2 separate regions of the Homo sapiens genome follow, and region 2 is linked to region 1. Evidence: promoter capture Hi-C in 16 types of primary human blood cells and fetal thymus (Javierre and others, 2016). All regions are on one chromosome and are shown on one strand. The core of a region is centred on a gene start or on the middle of the fragment in contact, and the rest is flanking DNA. Distances in the headings are between cores, read along the strand shown. Region 1 holds the start of CDKL2 (cyclin dependent kinase like 2). Region 2 has its middle 5.2 kb from the start of SCARB2.

Region 1 (4,547 bases), core at 802-3,301:
TCTTGTTTTACCAATGATTGACGAAGGTCCAGCAATCATTGGACAAAATGCTTTCGTACAGAAAAAAATTATTTCAGTCCAAATACAGATAGATTTTAACTATCTATTATTTCAGTAATAATAGATAAAAAATTATTTCAGTCCAAATACAGATAGATTTTAACAAGAAATAATTCTTGCCTGTTGTATTAATTGTATACTTACGGCAATCTAAAATTTACTCAGATCGTGAACTGTTTTTCCTATTTCTCTATTGGAACAGTGATGCAAAGACAAAACAAATATTCTCTTTGTTCTAGCAAACTATGCTAATCCAATGTATACAATACGTTTTCCACACTTGACATATAATAGTTTGAGATTTTATAATATATATATTTTTAATGTAGCTATATGTGGAGAACCAGAAGATTGATCTTGAGGGGTGGGAAATGAAAACAATACCAATGAACATCGACTTAAATTATTATTTTACTACCAGTTTTCATAGTAGATTCTACTACAAACTTTTTACAGAGCAGTGTCCCAGACACTAACTTTCCATGCATTTGACATTTTACCTTCTATTCCACTTCCATTAACTATTTTTTAATAAACTGTTTGTATTTGAAAAAAAAAATCTCCATATAATTCTATCCCTTCTTAATTTTTTTCTCTTCCATTAAGAGAGTATGTTTTATTAAGCACTAGGCTTTAGGTTTATCATACCAATGACAAAAATAGCTTGAATCTATAACCTGGATTATTTTAAAACATTTTGTAATTGATGTCCTCAATATTTGAAAGCACAAAGTGAACCAAAAAAAATGACTTTAAGCATGTCTGAGGTGTTCTGAAGCATATCCCAAGCTAACATTAATGCAAGTTGACTGCTTCAAGTTTATTCTCCCAACCAATTGCATATCTGGACACACCACATTGAACACACCTGCTTTTTCAAGTGACACTGTCCACAAATACTTTAAAAGTATCACAGCCTACAAAGCCTCCTGTTTCCTGAAACAGTTACTCATAAACTATAACTTCTCATGCCTTCTACTCTTGAACGGAAAGGTAATACAAACGAAAAAGAAACCTGGCCAATGGGCAAGGTGTTATTTCTGGATGGTTCTAAAAGCAACAATTTTGATAAAAATATTTGGAGAATGCTAATTTTTTATTTTGTTTAAGACAGATTAAAGGGCCGGGAGCGGTGGCTCACGCCTGTAATCCCAACACTTTGGGAGGCCGAGGCGGGCGGATCACCTGAGGTTGCGAGTTCGAGACCAGCCTAACCAACATGGAGAAACCCTGTCTCTACTAAAAATACAAACTTAGCCGGGCGTGGTGGTGATGCCTGTAATCCCAGCTACTTGGGAGGCTGAGGCAGGATAATCGCTTGAACCCAGGAGGCAGAGGTTGCGGTGAGCCGAGACCATGCCATTGCACTCCAGCCTGGGCAACAAGAGTGAAACTCCGTCTCAAAAAAAAAAAAAAAAAAAAAAAAAAAAAAAAAAAAAAAAGATTGAAATCTTTTATAGATCAAAGAACGAGATAATAGAAGCTTTAAAACGTACTATACTTACCGTTTCTTCAATCCGTTCGCATAGAAAGACCCAAAGGTTTTCAACTTGGAAACAAATTTGAGGTGAAATGCATATGGTTCGCAGGTCCAAAAGATGCTGCCTAGCAAACTAGCAATTCCAGCGCTGTTGTGATTTCTTCTGCGGACGCAGTCACGAGTCCAGGGCGAAGCAGGCAGGGAGGCAGGTGGGCCTCGGTCCGCCGCAAGCTCACACTTAGGAGGACCACGGGCCGCATGCTGTCGTCGTCAAGGCAACGACCTCACTCTGTCCCCAACCATAGGCACAAAGTCTTGGGAGACAGATACGGCCCAGGTCAGAATGCGTTCACGGCAGGCACCAACACCTGTGAAGGCCAAGGGCTAGAGAGCAATTAGCTGGGTGAGAGGCACCACCTCCCAGCTCGTAAGGCGCCCAGTACCTGGAGCCTGGGAACCTGCACCGCTCCAACTACCCCTGGGCGAAGGCGTTGGCCGCGGAGCTGCAAGGGGGGGCGGTTTCTCACCCGCCCCGAGAGCGCCAGGCCTCCCTTCTTCTGATTGGCCGAGCCGAGTCGTCACGAGCCATGATTGGCTCAGGGCCAACCACCCCGCCCCTTCACCTAGGGCTCGGCCCAGGTTCTGCTCCCTGACACGCAGAGGCCCTGCGTCCCCACACGCCTTGGTTCTCGTCAGGAGGCGCCTTTCTGCCTTCCCCAGCGGGAGGAGGCGATTGTGATGCCCACGCGAAGGGTAAAGGTGGCGGTTATGTAGGACTGCGAAGACTATGCAAAATGCGATACGGTTTCCCTCATAGCATCGCCGCTGGGGCAGGGGCGGGCGCCGGGCGCCCTGAGTCGCGTAGGCGCGGCCTGACCGGGATTCCATGCTTCCTTTCTGTTCTGGGCGGTGGGGCCAGTGTGAGCCAGGTAGGAGATAACGGTGACAGTTTAGGAGGTGATGATTAGTAGGCGAGGCAAGGTGGAAGAAGGTAGGTGATGACAGACCTGACGTTAGGAGGGACCTTGGGAAGGCCAGTCTGGCCATTGAAAGTGAGGGAAAACACTGAGATGGAGGAAGGGGAAGAGAGGGCATGAGTGGAATGGGAAAGCGCTGGGATGGCTGGGGATCTGGAGGACACGCACAACACCCGCGTATGGCAGCCAAATGGGGTGGAGTTAGGGCTTGCGATAAAACTTGCCTTAAATGCAAAAATGCAGCTCAATCCACGACTGAGCAAGACTGGTAGGTCAGAATCATGCACAGGCTTAAATCACACAGGAACAGAGCTTACCCCATTTTCAAAGAATCTGAGGCAGCGAGGAGGCCATAAGGCCAGTAAAATAACACTTTCAATCATGATAACTAAATGTTCATGATCATTTTGGTCTCGAAACTACTTTGATTTAGGGAATAGAGTGTCCTGGATAGACAAATGTCTACCATATACCCTAGTCAATATTAAGGTATTAATCATTAATGTTAAGGTATTGATTCCTTCTTGTACATTAAGAAATAGACATTCTTTTTATAGTCTTTTGTGAGTTTGGTTAGTTTGCATTAATCTCCCAGTGGTTAATTACCTTGGTCAGACTGCTTAAAATCTAGTTCCTGAACCTGTAATATTGAGAACCAGACCTGAGGCCTAGTTATGGAAAGAATAGAATTATTTGGTCAATTCAAGATGTGACTCTTAGTGTAGCAATTAGCTCTGTCCTTAGCTGTGTCCAAGTTGCGAGAAGCCCTGTCCCATTTGGTACCTCTATAGGCTATAAGAGAATCTGATGAACTTCTTTTATATGGGGGTAGATTCAGTTTTGTTGGGCCTGAAGCTTAAGAACAAGAGCGCAAAACTATTTTACTTTTGCAACTTTATAATCATATTCAACCGTATAACATTTTAAGGCCCCTTCATGCAAGAGGCCTAGAAGCTTCAATAATCTATTTATATCTCACAGGGAACCAAAGGATAAAGACTGAAAATACTGGATTTGGCGAACAAGTGATGCTTTAGGAAACAATTTCAGCCAGATGCGGTGGCTCATGCCTGTAATCCTAGCACTTTGGGAGGCCAAGGCGGGCAGATCACCTGAGGTCAGGAGTTTGATACCAGCCAGGCCAACATGGTGAAACCCTGTCTCTACTAACAATACAAAAATTAGCTGGGCATGGTTGTGAACGCCTGTACTCCCAGCTACTTGGGAGACTGAAAAAAAGAAAACAAACAAACCAAAAAAAAACAATTTCAGTAAGAACTGAGTTTGAAAGCCAGTTGTAGAGGACAGAGGTTATTAAAGACTTACACATTCTGGCCATCTACAGGATTGTTAATAGAGAAGGTATTATGTAGAAACAGGATTGTGTTACTATTTTTTCTTTCTTTTCTTCTGAGGCGGAGTCTCACTCTGTTGCCCAGGCTGGAGTGCAGCAGCACGATCTTGGCTCACTGCAACCTCTGCTTCCTGGGTTCAAGCGATTCTCCTGTCTCAGCCTCCCAGGTAGCTGGGATTACAGGACCCCACCACCACGCCTGGCTAATTTTTTTCTTTTTTTAGTAGAGGCAGGTTTTCGCCATGTTGGTCAGACTGGTCTCGAACTCCTGACCTCAGTTGATCCGCCCGCCTCAGCCTCCCAAAGTGCTGGGATTACAGGCGTGACCCACCGCACCCGGCCTATTTTTTCTTTTTAAAGAGGGAAATATTTATAGGGAAAAAGAGTGGGGAGAGACCTTAAAGGGGCAAGAAAATGAATAATTAATGAAAAACCAAGGAGAGGTACTGAAGAGTAGGTAATAATATATGAGAAGGGGTTAGGCTTGAAGAGGTTTAGAGAAAATGGAAAAAACTGAGAAAAGTGTAGGGCATACACTGTGGGCCCAGGCCATCTCAGTAAAAGAACTTTATTTTTGCATAAAAAGGTAATGGTGAGATAGAGGCTTAAGGATTTGAGAGCAGAAATACGTTAGAATAGTTAAGAAGTCATTTTGATATAAAAGGAACACAAAATA
Region 2 (4,342 bases), core at 67-2,566, 590 kb after region 1:
GTGATCCCACAGTAATCTCTGTCTTATCACCGAGGCTGGCATAACTTTTTAGCAGCTGGCCTGGCTGTCTTTCTGTTCAGTTCCATCTTCTCTACCCACAGCTATGTTCAGAAGCTTTTGACACAAAGCCCCAAAATCCAGATTTAAGTTTCTCAATGCCCTTTGGGACTTCCTCCTCATTTCTGATCTATAGGACATGTCTGCACCGCTAATTGGCATTGTTAGTTTATTGCCACAGGATCATCTCACCCTATGAGAGACTTTGCCCTCTCATCCAGGGAGTAGCCCCTGCTTGCCAGCCACTAATAACCCTGAACACACTCTGGAGGGGCAGACAGCTTGGGAAGGGGTTACTGCTCCCAGAGTTTAGATGAGGAGGCTGATGCCAGGGCAGGGAGACAATCAGGACTCTTCCTGGTGACTTCTCTGCTATGGTTTGGATTTGTGTTCCCTCCAAATCTCATGTTGAAATTTGATCCCCAGTGTTGGAGGTGGGGCCTAATGGGAGGTGTTTGGGTCCTGAGGAGAGATTGTTCATGAATAGATTAATGCCTCCCTCAGGCATGAGTGAGTTGTCAGAGAGCGGGTTGTTGAAAAGAGCTGGCACCTCCTCCTTCTCTCTCTAGCTTCCTCTCTGCCCATGTGCCTCACACAGGTGTGCTCCCTTTCTGCCTTCCCAGGAGTGGAAGCAGCCTGAGGCCCTCATCCAATGCAGATGTCTGTGCCGTGCGTCTTGTCCAGCCTGCAGAACCATGAGCCAAATAAACCTCTTTTCACTACCCAATCTCAGGTATTGTTATAGCAACACAAACAGACAAGGGCGGAAAATGAGGAGACTGATGCTGTGGCAAGGAGATACGGTGATCTCTCTATACCTAAAATCAGAAGACTTTATCTGAGAAGAACAAGTACACTTAATGAATGATTGCTGGTGCCTGTTGAAATTATGCAATCATTCGGGACTTAGAAAAAGAGCTTTCTTCACAGACTCTAAGGGCTATCGAGGGGAAGCAAGAGGGCTCTTTGGGCTCTACCTTAAATTTAGAATGTTGATACTATACTCAAATGAGTTTAATGATGTAGTCATTGTATACTTTTATGTTCAAAGTGTTAATGTGTTAAATATAAACATTTAAAATACACCACAGGCCGGGCCAGGTGGCTCATGCCTGTAATCCCAGCATTTTGGGAAGCCAAGGCAGGAGAATCACTTGATCCCAGGAGTTTGAATGGAAATGGCCCTAGGCCTTGCCTACTTTGGGACAGGTCAGGCTCCAAGATACTTCTAAAAGTCTTGGCTTTCTTCTTATTGAAGGTGATCTATAAAATGTACCATCACACCCTAGTGATTTGACATATGTTATTCCTAAATGTTTGTGGGGCATCCTAAATCCTGAGCAATACAGCCTCCATAAGAAAAAATTACTCTCTCCTCCCTCCTCCCCTACCCATCATTCCAAAGTTCTTACATTACAGAACTGCTTTATGCAGATAGGCTTACATATCCCAGAGGAGAGCTCATATACCATTTATATTATATCACATGCACCTGTGCCAGGCCACAGGGACTCTCTGTGAAGTTACCCATGTCCCTGTCTACCGCCTCCTCCGATCAAGAAGACCTCATGGCTTCCTCATTATCATCTTTGCACCCCCAACTAGGGGAATCTTTTCCAGTTTGTTTTGGTTTGGTTTGGTTTTTATTTTGTTTGGGGTTATGGGAAAATGAGAATTCCCCTCTTCAAATTCTTATTTTCCTTTTTGTTCCCCTAATAATGCAGACTTATTGAAACACGGAACTAGGAGGAGATATCCTATTCACCTTTTTCTCTTCCCTTTCCTGAAAACACAAGCGTAGTGTTGTCTAACTAATAGAATGTGTGGTTGGAGGGCGAGGAGTCAGGAGATCAAAGAGGAGAAAAATATAGTGGGCAAAAAGGGTGAATATGTCAGCAATATTATCTGCTACTTGTACATAGTACTTGTACAAGCACTATGCTAGACAGTGGGCTTGCATTACTTCATTTACTCCTTACAATGCCCTATGATGTAGACATTCTATTTTAAGGATAAGGAAACTGAGGCACACAGAGATTGACTAAGTAGTCCAATGTTACTGGCCAGTAGGAAGCAAAGGTATTACTAAATCCAAGTCAGTCAGATGCTTTAGCCAGGCTCTTAACCCCTTAGCCACTGCTTGGGACTTCTGGCCTCATGCTTATTAAGAGTAAAAGGAAAGCAGTGAAAATTGCAAAAAATAAAAATAAAAATAAGCAATGGCACTGGAATACTCATGGTGACCTGGGCATCCAGGAGGGGCACAGGTTGGAATTAGTGTGTGTGGGAGACAATGCCTCTGCCTGAACCTGATGTTGAACTAGAATGGAGAGCCAGGAAGGAGTTGCCAGTCCGGTGGCCAAAAATATACTTTGCAATATATCTAATGTATATTCTGACGTGAAATGTATTCTAGTCTGTTCTCACTTGAGGTACTTTGATGGTACTTTCTAGAAGCAAATGAAGCTTGGGTTGGGTTTAAACTCACTGTGGCAAAGCCAGCATATTGTGAAATATCAAGGCTGTCTGATTTCCTGCATGTTGTGAAATCAGGGCTAAATAAACAACACGAGAGGTCACAGTTATTCTTTAATGATGTGTTCCATGGGGAGAAGCTGTATAAACGAGAAAGCCAGGTTTACTCAGCATCTCTTTCTGAGGGGAGAAAGGGGGGATGGAGAGTGAAGAGGGGACTGTCTGAGGGTAGAGGCAGACTTTGTCAGCCTGGAGTGGTGGGGAGAAGATATTTGGCCAGAGATAGGGGTGCAGTAGTGGAATGGGGAATGGGGGGCTTAGATATTAGACTATGGAAAGGGTAAAAATAAGCCCCGCCCCTCACCACTAACCTGGTCCCCGCATGACTTCTAACCACTGCACTCACCACATATCCTGAGAGTCTGAAATGATTACCTAGAAGCCTCCTATACTCATCAAACCTCAGAGAAGACTGCTATTCAGTTAACTTTACAACAGTTGTAAGCATTTCCAGTTCTTTCATAAATAAATACTGTTTCTTTTTAGTGTCAATGAAAAACGTTTCAGAATATTAATGAGTAGTGTTTGCTTCAATTGCACTGCAAGCTATCTTAAGCAGAACTGTTTCCTCCATTTTGAATCAAACCAGAGGAGATAGAGATGCAAATCACAGTTCTTTAAAAAGTTAAACAGAATTATCATATGACCTAGCAACTCTCTTCCTAGGTATATAACCCCCAAAATTGAAGACAGGTACTCAAACAAATACTTGTAAACCAGTGTTCATAGCAGCATTGTTCACAATAGTCAAAAGGTGGAACCGACCCAAATGTCATCAGACAATAATAGATACACAAAATATGTTATAGACATACAGTGGAAAATACTATTCAGCTATAAAAAGGAAAGAAATAGGCTGGGTGTGGTGGCTCATACCTGTAATACCAGTATTTTGGGAGACTGAGGCAGGAGGATTGCTTGGGACCAGGAGTTCAAGACTAGCCTGGGCATCATAGCAAGACCCTATCTCTATAGAAAAATTAAAAATTAGATGGGCACGGTGGCATGCACCTATAGTCCCAGCTTACTTATGAGGTGAGATAGGAGGATTCCTCGAGTCCAGGAGTTCAAGGCTGCAGTGAGCTGATTGTGCCACTGTACTCCAGCCTGTGACAGAGCTAGATCCTGTCTCTTAAAGAAAGAATGAAGTCCTGATACATGCTACTACAGTGCAGACTTCTTTTCTTTTCTTTCTCATCTGCCATTTCTGATGTGAGTAATGGTCCCTCTTAGAATATGATCTTTTTAAAAATCAGTGATGGGAAAAGAATTCTAGAAAGTTCTGGCAGTTTTTTACCCAGGGAGAAATAAAAGGGATAACCAGTCATAGGTACATTTTCTGTTACATAAGAAGCAAGATTGTACAAGAATGCTTCCAGGTGCTCACCTGGGATCAGCTGGGACCACAGGGGTTTCTTCATTCTCTCAGCGGAGTCAGTACACACACTCAGCTTCCCCTGGGGATGGCAGCTTCCTCCTGGTCCTCTTTATTTCCCCATGGGAAACTGTACAACTCACAGGCCCCAAGGTCCCTCACTGATTCCTAATCAACTCCTGTAAAGAGTCAGCTCCCTAAGTCCAGACTGCCTGGCACCATGCAATCTGTATATTCCCTTATGAACAAGGCCACTTTCCCATACCTGCCCACAGGAAGAAAAACCCATTGTGGCAGGGGAAGGGGACAGGCTTTCTCCTCTGGAACCGAATCATACAGCCCAGCAGCCTTCACCTGCTTCACTAATGGTAAGCT

What was found. Contacts are between HindIII fragments. The CHiCAGO score rates a contact against its expected background, and 5 or more counts as called.
Region 2: a fragment that was not itself captured here is called in contact with the fragment with the promoter of CDKL2 in region 1 in 1 of 17 cell types (activated CD4 T cells); the score reaches 5.6 in activated CD4 T cells.

The regions. Positions count from the first base shown.
Region 1 is chr4:75,628,477-75,633,023 of GRCh38, forward strand. It overlaps CDKL2 (cyclin dependent kinase like 2), which reads right to left and starts at 2,052. Exons shown (of 14, transcript NM_001330724.2): 1 at 1,566-2,052. The HindIII fragment of the contact is 1,829 bases long and covers 1,542-3,370 here.
Region 2 is chr4:76,216,899-76,221,240 of GRCh38, forward strand. It overlaps a transcript of SCARB2 not described here and a transcript of FAM47E not described here. Among named protein-coding and RNA genes, the nearest start is that of SCARB2, 5.2 kb to the left of the region's middle. The HindIII fragment of the contact is 2,409 bases long and covers 113-2,521 here.